3 separate regions of the Homo sapiens genome follow, and regions 2 and 3 are each linked to region 1. The links are contacts of gene promoters, found by promoter capture Hi-C in human tissues and cell types (Jung and others, 2019). All regions are on one chromosome and are shown on one strand. The core of a region is centred on a gene start or on the middle of the fragment in contact, and the rest is flanking DNA. Distances in the headings are between cores, read along the strand shown. Region 1 holds the start of RHCG (Rh family C glycoprotein). Region 2 has its middle 9.7 kb from the start of TRR-TCG1-1. Region 3 holds the start of MIR9-3 (microRNA 9-3).

Evidence for each region. The method cuts DNA at HindIII sites, captures the fragments that hold promoters and counts their contacts. A contact is called where the count stands out against the background at its distance.
Region 2: a contact is called between a fragment that was not itself captured here and the fragment with the promoter of RHCG in region 1, in 1 of the 25 tissues and cell types used here (dorsolateral prefrontal cortex).
Region 3: a contact is called between a fragment that was not itself captured here and the fragment with the promoter of RHCG in region 1, in 2 of the 25 tissues and cell types used here (IMR-90 fibroblasts and aorta).

The regions. Positions count from the first base shown.
Region 1 is chr15:89,494,597-89,499,095 of GRCh38, reverse strand. It overlaps RHCG (Rh family C glycoprotein), which reads left to right and starts at 2,513. Exons shown (of 11, transcript NM_016321.3): 1 at 2,513-2,735. The coding sequence starts at 2,552. The HindIII fragment of the contact is 31,959 bases long and covers 1-4,499 here.
Region 2 is chr15:89,342,508-89,347,006 of GRCh38, reverse strand. No RefSeq gene overlaps it. Among named protein-coding and RNA genes, the nearest start is that of TRR-TCG1-1, 9.7 kb to the right of the region's middle. The HindIII fragment of the contact is 7,036 bases long and covers 1-4,499 here.
Region 3 is chr15:89,365,509-89,370,007 of GRCh38, reverse strand. All of the region lies in intron 1 of MIR9-3HG (MIR9-3 host gene), which reads right to left. It overlaps MIR9-3 (microRNA 9-3), which reads right to left and starts at 1,991; the gene lies at 1,902-1,991. RefSeq lists an enhancer at 1,771-2,384. The HindIII fragment of the contact is 9,312 bases long and covers 1-4,499 here.

The DNA.
Region 1 (4,499 bases), core at 1,264-3,763:
ATTGCCGTGTACTTGAAGTTTTTCTCCCCAGCAGTGAATGCACATGCACGAAGTCAAACCCTCCTTCTCGCTCCTTCCAGAGGGGACAAGCAGAATGGCACAGTAGAAAGACTACAGCCTTTGAAATCAGACAGCCCAGGGTTTGAATCTCCAGCAAGTTCCTTAGCCAATCTGAGAACTCAGGTTTTTCAACTGTAGCATGTACCTACAATGTCCACTTCACAAGTGTTTAGTTGAGAATTTAAATATATATCAAAAGGATCCGGCAACCGCAGGAACTTAATAAATGGTCCCTATTGCTGGTATTGCTCATGCAGTGTCTGGCTGCTTCTTTGCCAAGGGAGTGGGGATACCCTGGTACCCCAAGCTGGCACAGTGTGGCCACACTCAAGTTCCAAGCACCCTGATTAGGTGCTTAGCCTCAGATGTTATACATGGCATTAGTGGCTTTTACAAATCTGGGATTTCAACTGGCAAGATTTTTTAAAGCCAGCATTGGCAAGAGTGCATGGGAAAAGTCACTGACCCCTGGCTCACAGGGTGCATGCTTTGTCTCGTAAAATCTTTCTAGGGGAACATCTAGAGATATGTATTGAAACAGCTCTGCCTCCAGGAATTCACAGAAAGTTGTGCAAAGACTTACATATCTGGATGTTCATGACAGCATGATTTGTAATACTAAACAAATAAAAAATGACCTCATCGCTCGTCACCTAACACTAGGGATTGTCTAGATAAAGCACAGTATATCCTGCTATAAAAGTTATGTTGTGGCAGGCTGGGTGTGGTGGCTCATGCCTGTAATCCCAGCATTTTGAGAGGCTGAGGTGGGAGGATCACTTGAGCCCATAAGTTCAAGACCACCCTGGGCAAGATAGGGAGACCCCATCTCTACAAAAAAAAAAAACTTAGCCGGGCGCGGTGGCGCACGCCTATAGTCCCAGCTACTCAGGAGGCTGAGGCCAGAGAATGGTGTGAACCCGGGAGGCGGAGCTTGCAGTGAGCCGAGATCACCCCACTGCACTCCAGCCTGGGCAACAGAGCGAGACCTGTCTCAAAAAAAAAAAAAAAAAAAAAAAAAAAATTAGGTGGGCCTGGTGGCACATGCCTGTGGTTTCAGCTAATTGGGAGGCTGAAGTGGGAGGATCACTTGAGCCCAGGAGGTCAAGGCAGCAGTGAACCATGATCAAGCCACTGCCCTCCAGCCTGGGCATCAGAGCAAGACCCTATCTCAAAAAAATAAATAAATAAAAAAGAAAAAGAAAAAGAAAAAAAGTTGTAGAAGTATAATATGGGAAGGTGTTTACAAAATATGAAAGGAGTTAAAAACGCTATAAATTAGTATGATCGTTTGAAACACTCCCCCTGCTCCCCTCCAGCCCCTCTTCAATGAGCTAGGAAAAGACTAGAGTACATACACCAAAATATTAGTATTGCCTCTGGGTGGTGGGATTATGAGTGATTTTTACTTTCTTCTTTGTGTTTTTCTGTATTTTCCAAATCTCTACAATTATCTCTGTATTTTTAAAGAAAAATTAGAAAATCAAATTTATTTTGACAATATACAGACTAAGCAGACAATATACAGACTGTTATACTGCTGAACAGAGAAACATGGGGATCATTGGCCTCCCAGTGAGATCAGAAGGAATTCCCAGACCTAAATATTATGGTTAACTCATGTCAAGATCACAGATCTTAACCAGAAGACAGTTCCTGACTATGGACCAATGAACTTGTGAAAAACTCTTAAATTGTTCTTACAATCCTTTATACGTGTTTTTTTTCTTAAAACCCTTGTATTTTGGAATAATTTTAGATTTACAGAAAAGTGGCAAAGACAGTCCCCATATAGCCCTTACTCAGTTTATCCTACTGTTAACATTTTACATAACCATGACATTTGTCCCAACTAAGAAAACAACATGGGAACGTCACTATTAACTAATTTTCAGGCTTTATTTGGATTTTACCAGTTTTCCAATTAACATCCTTTTTCTGTTCCAGGGTCAAGTCTGGGGTAGCACATCACAGATGTCTCCCCAGGCCGCTCTGTTGTGTGACAGTGTCCCAAACATTCCTTGTTTCTCATGTGCCCTGTATGAATTTCATAATCAGAAAAAGAAAGGACAGATGATGATGCAGATGATGATGGCAGATGATGATGATGTTGATGATGATGACTTAGGTCTGGGAATTCCTTCTGATCTCACTGGGAGGCCAATGATCCCCGTGTTTCTCTGTTCAGCAGAACAAAAGGAGAAAGGCCCCAGTATCAACGGGACACACAGAATTTGGGGCACCCTGATCCTCCTGCCCACTGCCTTAGCCTCTGCTCCTGCCGCTGTCCCCCAGCCCGACGCGGGGAATCTTTTGGGGCCCTCGGCTTGGGTTGGGCCCCTGCCAGTTGGGCGAGCGCGCGGGCGGTGCCCGAGTCAGCTGCTCCGTGCCCCACGTGGCCGCCCCGCCCCCCTGCCCGGGTCTCAAAAGCCCCGCCGGCCTCCGAGCGTCCGAACCGCCCGCTGCCAGCCCGGCCAGGCACCCCTGCAGCATGGCCTGGAACACCAACCTCCGCTGGCGGCTGCCGCTCACCTGCCTGCTCCTGCAGGTGATTATGGTGATTCTCTTCGGGGTGTTCGTGCGCTACGACTTCGAGGCCGACGCCCACTGGTGGTCAGAGAGGACGCACAAGAACTTGAGCGACATGGAGAACGAATTCTACTATCGCTACCCAAGTAAGTCTCGCCGCCTGCAGGCCCAGCGGAGGCATATCCGCGCCGGTCCCCACCTGGCCAAGGGCTCGGCCCAGAGCTGGGCAGAGGAGGGGATCTACCCTGCAGCCGCGGACTCCGCATCTCGCCGGCCTCTGCAGGGCATGCGTGGGAAATTGTCAGATGTGCACAAACTCCTTTTCCCCGTGAAAAACTAGTAGGGAAAACACCGGGATGAGGTTTTTATTTGACCGCCCTCCCAGCCGTCAGAGCCCCCCAACATCCCTGTCAGAGAGCCCTGCTTGGTATACTAAGAAGATCCGAGTCCTCTCGCCCCATTACCAACCAGTGGATGACCTGGCTCCCTTGTCCAGAGGAGCGCTTACTCCAAATAAGCGCCAGCCCTGCTGTGGGCAGAGGTGTTGTGGGACCACTGGTGGGCCAGGAGGCCAGGACACCCACCCCCTTTTAGCTTGGAGAGGGAAAACAAGCGCCCCTGAATCTTCTGGTGTCAGCGGTGCTGTGGTTAAGAGCATGACCCTACAATCACACACCTCCCTTTCTCTCATGCTCTCGTGGCTCTTGCCACAAACCAGGTGGCTGGCCTCAGGCAAATGCCAACCTTCCTAAACCTCAATTTCCTCATCTACAGAATGAAGATAATGGTAGGACCTCCTTCACAGGGGTTGGGGTGAGGCTGTGGCGAGGAAGTGCATGTAAAGCTCTGGCAGAGTTGGGGTGGGATCCTTTCTTCATAATGGAGCAATTGCTACAAGAGCACCAAACACAGGTGCCCTAGGACTCAGGAGCAGGGAGAGCTAGCCCAAGGTCACTCTGAGCTGCCCGACCTCTGGACTCCCAGCCTGGGGCTCTTCCCAAAATCAGAATGCCCTTGTACTTTCTGATTTTCCACTCCATCCGCCATCAGCCAATGAAAATTATTCTAGCCGGTGGTGTTCATGTAGTCATTGACTGTTAGCTTTGAAAGGGACCCTAAAGCCCCTCTCCAGCAGCCGCCTATATCAACTGGTATTCCCTCCACACCTTAGACATTCTCGGCAACAGGGGATTCTCTATCTCCAAGAAAACAACTGCACACTTTCAGAATGGCAGCCTGCATGAAAAAAGACTGCGTTTGGGGGGCTGCAGGCTTGGTGGGAGCCAGCCATATTAAGTGGCTGCCAAAAAGTTAGGGCTATCATGGGCTGCATTTAATAGTTACTTGGTGCCTAGAAGGGAAGTAACAGATAAGGGGTGCGCCCCCTGCTGGGGAGACCACAGTTTCTCCTGGGCTCCATTTAGGGCTGTTTTTTAAAAGATATCTTAGACAGCTGCAGCCTTGGGATTCAGGCTCCAAATCCACTGTTCACATTGTCCACCTTTCCTCTCCTCAAGGGGGGGACTTTCCAGCAAACAGTGAGGCAGGCAAGCTTGAGACCCTCCTTTACCTGTTCTTCTCCCTCCCTCCCGCACTTGCTTCCCACTTGACCCCAGAGCATAAGGGGCAAGAACTCCCATGGGCGTTCACAGGTCCTCAATGTGTCTGGGGAGTGGAGGACCTCAAGACCTTAAATAGGCTGGGTGCGATGGCTCACACCTGTAATCCCAGCATACTTTGGGAGGCTGAGGTGGGAGGATCGCTTGAGCTTGGGAGTTTGAAGCTACAGTGAGCTATGACAGCACCACTGCACTCCAGCCTAGGTGACAGAGTGAATCTCTATCTCTCTCCCTTTCAAAAAAAAAAAAAAGAAAGAAATGAGAGAGAGAGAGAGAGACCCTATAATAGGA
Region 2 (4,499 bases), core at 553-3,052, 150 kb after region 1:
AATAAGTTCCCCTTTTGTCTGCCAAAATTGGTTTTAATTAGGCTTCTGGTGCTGGTAGCCAATAGAATCCTAAGTGATTTGTCTTCCCCTCTGTAAAATAAGGGGACCGGACAGGCTGGTCTATGGGGGGCCTGTTGGCGCTGGCAATGGGGGGCCCTTGGCCCTATGCGCTGGGATGAGCCGGGATCTGACCTGACTGTAGTTGTCTCAGCTCAGCGGTAAAGGGACCTCAACATGTACCTCCCGCTTCAATGTCAGGCATCCTGGCTCAGTCTTGGGATACAGCATTTAGGAGGTGGGGCCAAATGAATGAAAGGCATGTGGCTGCCTCCTCTGGCTCTCTCCTGCCATTATCTGAGCTACTGCTGGGCTGGCCAGCTCGGGGAGGGGCAGGGAAGCAGGCACAAAACCAAAGCCTCTGCTGAGGAGAGAATCTGCATGTGTCACTGCAGCAAAACCTCACAAGCCCCCTATGAGGCTATCACCTTCCCATTATAGAGACAAGGATGCTGAGGCACAGCAAGCTCCCTTGTAATTTGCTTAAGGTCACACAGTTTGGACAGGTGGAGCCAGGATTCAGACTCATTTCTTTCAGAAGCCTTCACTTCACGGCAGGCTCTGCTGCTCTTTGGCAAGGACCCTGACTCCCTCCAGGGCCTCTAGCCAGACCCAGGGATGGAAAAGAGCATCCTCTCTTGCCCAGTGGCTGGGCCACCAGGGACCCTGAAGCTGTGCCTCCGTGGATGCTGGCATGAAGCCTCAAGCCAAAAGGCTCAAGGGCAGGGCTCTCAGCCACATCTACCGCCATGTGGCCTCAAGCAGAGGGCTTCAAGAACCCCATTCCCTCATCTGTAAAACAGGGATAAAATGCCTCCGTTGCTTCCCTCGCAGTCAGAGGGGCCCTCAAGTGGGGAAGCCTGAAGACACTGTCCAGCTTACTATCTACCAGTCATCAGACTTTCGTGTGCCTTTAGGAAGAGTTGTGCCCTCTTCCACCCTGGGCCAGACTCATGTCAAGGGCTGGGGCCAGCCAGGTTGCTGCCACTTTAACTCTGTCCCAGGGACCAGGGTGGCAGATAACAGTTAACAGAGGAGGTAACAGTCCAATTGCCACCTCCAATTCCCACCTTTTTTTTTTTTTTTTTTTTTTTGAGATGGAGTCTCCCTCTGTCACCCAGGTTGGAGTGGAACGGCACGATCTTGGCTCACTGCAACCTCCGCCTCCCGTGTTCAAGTGATTCTCCTGCCTCAGCCTCCCGAGTAGCTGGGACTACAGGTATGCACCACCATGCCCAGCTAATGTTTTTGTATTTTTATTAGAGACAGGGTTTCACCGTGTTGGCCAGGATGGCCTCGATCTCCTGACCTCATGATCTGCCCACCTTGACCTCCCAAAGTGCTGGGATCACAGGCATGAGCCACCATGCCCAGCCGCCTTTTTTAGTGACCATTTTTTTTTGTCTGTTTACCAAAAAAAGCAAAAAATCCTTCCCACCAAAAGATTAAATGTGGAAATTTTAGAAAATACATTTAAATCTATATACAGCTGATTCTCATGATTCAGCATTTGTGAATTTGCCTACTCTCTAATATTTATTTGTAATCCCTAAATCCATAATCATGGCGTTTTCAGTCATTGGAGGGCATTTGCAGAGTGGCCATTTGTGAGGTTGAACAAGGGGACGCTCTGTCTTCTTGTCTCAGCTCTTGTGCTGTAAACAAATGTTCTTTCTGCAGTCTATTCCAGATCACGCTTTTCACATATTTGTGTTTTTTGTTGGTGGTTTTGCTGTGTAACACGGCCTCCCAGCTCAGTGCTGAAGTGCTCTCTACTGTTCCCAAGCACAAGTAGGCTGTGATGTGCCTTACAGATAAAATACGTATGTTAGATTAGCTTCAATCAGGCATGAGTTATAGCACTGTTGGCTGTGAGTTCAATGTTAATGAATCAACAGTATGTAGTAAATAAGGTGCCTTTAAATGGAAACACACATAACACAAGGTTATGTAGTGATCATTTGATTGAAATGTTGTGAGCAGAGGCTCACAGGAACCTAAATGTGTATTTCCTCTAGGAACGATGCTTCCATATTTGCTCATTCAATGGTCATGGTGACTTTATAGACCATAACTACAGCCAATAATGAGAACTGACTGTTTATTCATCAGTCAGGGATGTCCATGATATTCAGCTGAATGATAGCTTTCAGTTACAGAATACTGGGTATTGGATGATCCCATATTTGAAATAAGTAAATAAATAAAGTTTTTTAAAAAGGCCTCTGGGTCAGGTGCAGTGGCTCATGCCCATAATCTCAGCACTTTGGGAGGCCAAGGCAGGAGGATCACTTGAGGTCAGGAGTTTGAGACCAGCCTAGCCAACATGGTGAAACCCCATCTCTACTAAAAATACAAAAATTAGCTGGGTGTGATGGCACACGCCTGTAGTCCTAGCTACTTGGGAGGCTGAGTCACGAGAATCCCTTGAACCTGGGAGGTGGAGGTTGCAGTGAGCAAAGATCATGCCACTTCCCTCCAGCCTGGGTGACAGAGCAAGACTTCGGCTCAATTAAAAAAAAAAAAAAAGTCTTCTGTTTGTGTGTTTTGATGTTTGTTGGAACATGGAGAAAAGAGTGAAGAGATTCTACCTGGCTTTCCTGGGTGGAGGGGGAGCAATGAGAGGGGGAGATGATTAAAGCTTTTCTGTTCTTTTCTTTTTTCCCTTGAGACAGGGTCTTGCTCTGCTGCCCAGGCTGGAGTGTAGTCCAGCTATGGTGCAATCATAGCTCACTGCAGCCTCAACCTCCTGGGCTCAAGCAATTCTCCCACCTCAGCCTCCCAAGTAGCTGGGACTACAGGCGCATGCCACCACACCTGGCTAATTTTTTTATATTTTGTAGAAATGGGGGTCTCATTCTGTTTCCCAGGCTAGTCTCAAACTCTTGGCCTCAAATTATTCTCCTGACTCAGCCTCCCAAAGTGCTGGAATTACGAGTGTGATCCCACTGCACTGCCCCTTTCCTTTTTTTAAAAGTTTTAGTTTAATATGCTATTTAAAATATATATATTATATAAAAATAATGTATTCTTTTTGAACAGGTAACAAGTTCACAATTCAAAACTGGAAAGCCACAACAGGATTTAAGTCAGAGTCTCCCCCTTACCATGTCCCGCCACCTGGAGGCATCAATGGTGTCAGTTTCTTGTGTTTCTAGGAAGGGATGGAGACTTTGGAGCTCCCCTCAAGAGTTTCAGGGTGGAGGTGAGGCCATGGAGGTGATGAAGAGCCAGAGTTTGCTGCTTGGATCTCGCCCTGGGGGCGCCTGCCCCTTGGTGGGTCCGGCCTCCCCTCCCCAGCCTTATCTTCCCATCTGAGCAAAGCAGGGTGCCCCGGTGACCCTCCGTGCTGTTCCTGACTGGGGCTGGAAGTGCGTTGACAGCTTCCACCATGCCTTCCCTCTCTGCCCCCACCTGGTGGAGCTTAGGTTCAGATATGGGGGCTCCAGCCTGACCATGGCCTCCGCCATCCACAGGCCTCTTCATGGCCCATCAGACCCAGGGCTGGCAGGAGGCTAGACAGTCTTGAAGGGGTCATGGAGTCTGGGCTCTGCCAGGTAAAGATGGCCCACTCAGGAGCCCAGGTAAGGATGAGCCAGGACAGCCAGACCCCACCAACCTCCAGAGTGAAGGGTAAGGAGCCCCGTGTTGGTGTGTCAGGGCAGCCACCTTTGCTCTCTGATTCTTGCAATGGGACACAGTCCTCAGCAGGTTGTCTGTCCTTGTCCCTGCCTCTTGGGCACTGGTCATACCTCAGTGGCCTTTGTTGACATTTGGGAGCCACTGAGTCTTTCTGCAAACCCATGGAGGGGCAGCTGATCCCCATCTTCTCTTCCTGTGGATTCCTGGGGCTACCTGCCTAGCCCAGGGCCACACACACCAGACGCACCCCTTGTCTGGGGCCAACAGGCTTCATCAGCAGTTTCCCACCAGCCCAGGCCCTCTGCTTTGCAAGATGCTGCTGGTCCCCGAGCTGAGGCAGTTTAGGCCCCAGCTGCTAGCATTCAGCCCCTCTTGCCTGTGGCCCCTAGACTCCTGAGAGCAGGGTCAGAGGTTGACAGTGGTTTGCAGGAAGTTTTCAAGGGTAGCCAGGGCTGGGAGCGGTGGCTCACACCTGTAATCCCAGCACTTTGGGAGGCTGAGGCAGGAGAATCACTTGAGCTCAGGAGTTTGGGACCAGCCTGGGCAACATAGTGAGACTTCATCTCTATTTTTAAAAAGGAAAATATATTAAAAGATGATGTGATTATTATTTTTTAAAAAAGCGGTAACCACGCTGGACGCGGTGGCTCATGCCTGTAATCCCAGCACTTTGGGAGGCCGAGCCGGGTGGATCATGAGGTCAGGAGTTTGAGACCAGCCTGGCCAACATGGTGAAACCCTGTCTCTACTAAAAATACAAAAATTAGCCAGACGTGATGGTGGCACATGCCTGTAATCCC
Region 3 (4,499 bases), core at 1,190-3,689, 130 kb after region 1:
ATTCAGAAAACCTTCTGCCCATGATTATCTCTGAGGAGAACCGGGGACCAAAGTAGGAGGGCAGCTGACTTTCCCTGCCTGGTCTTTTGTGTGTATTTTTTATTTAATTTTACTGTGAATGCTAACACACTCACAGGGTTCACAATTCCAAAGGTATACAGTGAAAAGTCTCCCTCTACCATCCACCTCAGCCACACAGTTCTCCTCCCCAGAGCCAAGGGGTTTTCCTTTTGTACTGTTTGAATTTTCACCATTTACATATATACCCTATATTCAAAATAATTTTGTTAGGCAAAGAACAAAAAAGGTTTGCAGGAGTGAAGATGGAAAAAATATTTCTATTTTTACAAGAGGGCTGGGCAAAGGCTGGGAGAAGAGGGGCCGTGAAAATCACTAAGGGAGAGGCTCCAGGGAGTGAAGTGAGCCAAGATGTACGTAAGGTGGCCTGGGGTCCAGCTCTGCCTTCTGAGCTGTGTGACCCTTAGGGAGTCACTTCAGATCCCCAGATCTGTTTCCTCTCATGTAAAAGGGTGAGGGGATGGGGGTCAGGGCTGGGTGGTGGTGCCAGTTCCTTTCAGCCTGTCTATCATAGCACTCACATACCCATATACTTAGAAAGCCCCCCTACCAATCGGGGAGTCTGAGCCTACCTTTCTTCCTTTCTTCCCTGAAGCCGGGCAGGGTCCCTTCCTTGGTCTACAGCCACTCGCTGGGGAGCTTGGGAGGTTTCCCAAGCTACAGGGGCCCTGAGCTTCAGGACAAGCCAAGGCATCAGGGTGGAAAGTGACCTGAAGGCAGATGAGAAACTCGAGAGGGACCCTAGCACTGTGTGGGGCCGGGACCCCCACGCACTGAGCAGGGGCAAGCCCCACTCCCTGAGCCCAGTTAAGAGGGGCTGGGAGCCTGAGTGGCCGGGTGTGCTGCATTGGGTTGCCATGGGAACGAATTCAGATTTCCCCCAATTGCTTTTTTATTTGCTAGACATTGTAATACATCTTATGTCGTGACTTCTTGGGGCAGGGAGGAGGGGGAGCTCTGGGAGCTTGCCTGCACCTTAACCTCGCGGGAAGTTGGGGAGGCTTGGGCAGGAGCAGCCCGGTCGGGGCTGGCGTAGAGGTAGCGGGAGACTGAGCTCGGTTCCTCCCGCCCACCCGCCGGCTCTTGGTTTGTATGCAGGGCAGGGCCGACCCGTCGGGGAGGGAGGCCCCTGCCCTGGCCCCTTGCCATTGAGCGCACTCCCCGCCAGTTCTGCTCCGCTTCACGCTGCACACAGACCCCCCAACTGCACACAAAGGCAGCTGCCAGAGCCCGTGAAAAGTGATCAAATTATCAAGAACTTGACCTCACCGAGGGGCGAAGCTCCGGCAACCCCCCAGCCGTATGCTAATGGCGCTCAGGGGCTGACTCGTCGAATAATTCGATAAAGGCCGCATTGTTAGCGGCAGGGCAGCCCCCAGCCCACCCCATTCACTCCCTCCACCCACCCCCTACCGACCGCTGTCTCTCTCCCATCGCATTTGCATCCCAAAATCCCCGTCCACGGCTCCGGGAGCGGATTGTTCCAGCCTGATTTATGGGGTGAAGGCGAAGGCTGGCGCCTTCCCCTTCCAGCGACCCCTCTGCAACCCCAACCCCCTCCCTCTCCCCGGCCCGCTCCACTTTGGGGTTCCTGCTCCGGCGCTGGGGGATAGGGGTGGGGGACCAGGAAAGAGGAGGACTGGGGGAAAGCTGGCACTGCAAGTGTCCCCAGAGAGAGAGCCGAGGTCAGGTACCTGGTCGGGGCGCGGCCGCTCCGTCGAGCTGGAGTCCGCTGGGCCGGCGCTGGGCTCCTCTCGGCTCCTCTGGCTCTTGCGGGCCGGGCCGGGGCGGTCGGTGGGGCGGGCGCTCGCACGCAGAAGTTGTGAGAATCATTTCTACTTTCGGTTATCTAGCTTTATGACGGCTCTGTGGCACTCATACAGCTAGATAACCAAAGAGAGAAACGGGCCTCCCTTAGCCAGTGCCGCTGCCGCGCCGTGGGCTCCACGTGCTGCTGCCTGCCGAGCGCGGGAGCCTGAGCGGACGCCGTGCCCGGATCCTGGGGCGCACGCGGAGAGCCAGAGGGGATGGACAGACACACGCACACGCTGACTCCCGCCACCTAGGCCCGCAGCCCCCGCCCAGTTCCCTTCCTCCCTCGCCCTCCCGGCGCATTTCTCCCCTGCTCCCCGTTCCGTGCGTCCTGGCACCGGCGCTGCCGGCCTGCCTCGACGGCGTCCCGGGGCTCACGTAGGGCACCCGCGCGGAGCGCTTAGAGAGCCTCGAGCGCCCCGGCCGCCCCCAGCGCACTGGACCGCCGGCCCTCCTCTCGCAGGCTAATCGCCCCGCGGGGAAGTGACGTCAGTCCAGGGATCGGCCAATCACAGGCTCCCATTCAAATCCCAGCCCCCTTCCCGCGCTCCGCACCACCCAGCCTTACAATGGCCTCGGCGTTCACGGCTTCCCCGCCCCGAGGGCAAGGAAGCGCACCCTCTGCCCTCAGAAGCCTCAGGGCTGCGCACCGTCTGATCTTTCACCCAAACTCCTCCGTCTTCCTCCCAGGGCCCAGGGAGCCCAGTACCCACTGCGGACCATCAGAGTTTGGGAGACAAGAATGCTCGAGTGACAAGGTTTAGGGACGCGTGTGATAGGACGTGGCGATCTCCACAGGAGGGCCGAGAGCGCTCACGGAGAGGCCGAGAGCAGAAGCCATTTCACCTTTAACTTCTCTCTTCCTTTCCCCATGCCCAGCACTTGCAGTAGATCTAGCCCACGCGGCAGAGACCAGGGATTGGAGGAAGAATTAAGTGTCCCGGTGAGCGCAGGTCGGTGTCCCACCCATAACACCTGGCACTCAGAGGTTCCTCAGCTATGCTCCACTTGGGCGAGGCCCTGGCCTGGGCCCTGAGTACCAAGCTGCTAGGTCCCTTCTCTCTCTCGGTTCCTAGACACACTAGGAGTGTAAAACCGATTGTGCCAAGCACCTTGGAGAAGTCCTAGGCTCTCTCTTGGCTCCTGGTTAAATTCATATTTCACCAAAAATTAAAGCACAAAGCCATGCCTCCACTCTCCTTCTTCAGCTCTCAGCACACACCTGGCTACTCACTCCAAGTAGCCGCAACAGTGGAAAGGGACTGCCACCTTGGGTCTCCCGGAATCACCCCTAAACTGAGCTGGCAGCTGAATTGGTGGTACCATTGCAGCCTTCCAGATGTGAGTGGCCTATGGGTACCACTTCGTGCTCATGCCAGCCATCACCCCCTTCTTCCTTGCTGCTGTGGCTACCCTCCAGCCTTGAGCCCTATGATTCACCTCCGCCTGTCAGCCATCCCCAAGATGCAAAGGATTCAGTATGAAAAATGCAATATCTTTGCTCCTAGATACCCCCAGAAAAATCTTAAGCTCAACAGCTAGGGAGAGATTTTATGTGGGACTGGGCAAGTGGATTCCCAGATTCCAGCAGTCAATACACGGGAGTCACAGAGACTCTCACTGCTGCTGTCTACAGTGAGCACTGTGGGGTTAGGTGGAGGTACCCGTGCAGATTCATTTTAGTGGGGTCTGGGGCACTGGGCCACTCTGAGCCAGGTAAAACCCTTGCAGGATGGGTTGGAAAGAAGGGGCCAAAAGTGGATGGTTTGGAAAAGATTTCATGATTTTACTAAAAATCTCTTCCTTCCATACACTCCCCTAAAAATGACACATGTGGATTTTGTCAAGTTCTGGATTTTGTCAAATGCCTCTTTCCCCATTGCTTGTCTGTGGTTTGTTCTAATTTCATCCCATCTCTAAATCCGAAGCAGGTGACATCCTGCTCTCATCCCAGCCAGCTTGTGACCAACCAAATCTGCTATGTACATGTTTCCCTCGAAATCCCACTTCGCAGACACATTCCTTTTTCCAGAAGGTGAACAAGGGCTGGACAGCTGAACCAGCAGAGGAACAGAGAGGCCAGCCACGGTTCAGGAAGGAAGCTCTGAATTTGGGCCCGAGACAGTTAATTCCATGAATTTCCATAATTGGGAGGCGCCCCTTGCTTCCCCTCCTCCTGCAGCTCCAGGAACCTGCACCCTCTTCCCTTCTTGATGTGTGTGTGGGCGGCCTTCTGAGCCCTAGTCCTTTCCGGGCCACCCAGGGGTGGGAAGGGTGGGGCTGCGGAGGCAGGGAGGGGCCCAGAAGCATGTTTCACCTGAGAGAGAGGGAAGAAAGAGAGGAAGCGAGGGGGAAGAGGGAGCGAGGAACGAGCCCCTCGGAGTGTGATTTAAGCAGGATGCTGCACAAAATGGCTCCTCAGCGAGACTCGCGGTAACCGCGCGCGGAGGCCGGCCTGCAAGCCTAGGGCGGGTTGGGGCTTTGGGAGAAAGAATTAAAAGCCTGATTTCGATTCAGTTCAGATGCAGGAGGCCACTGTCATCAGAGCCACATCTCTACTGTCTTTTTGGGAAATCGAGTCCCTTCTTGGGAGCAGGTGAGGCTGACCA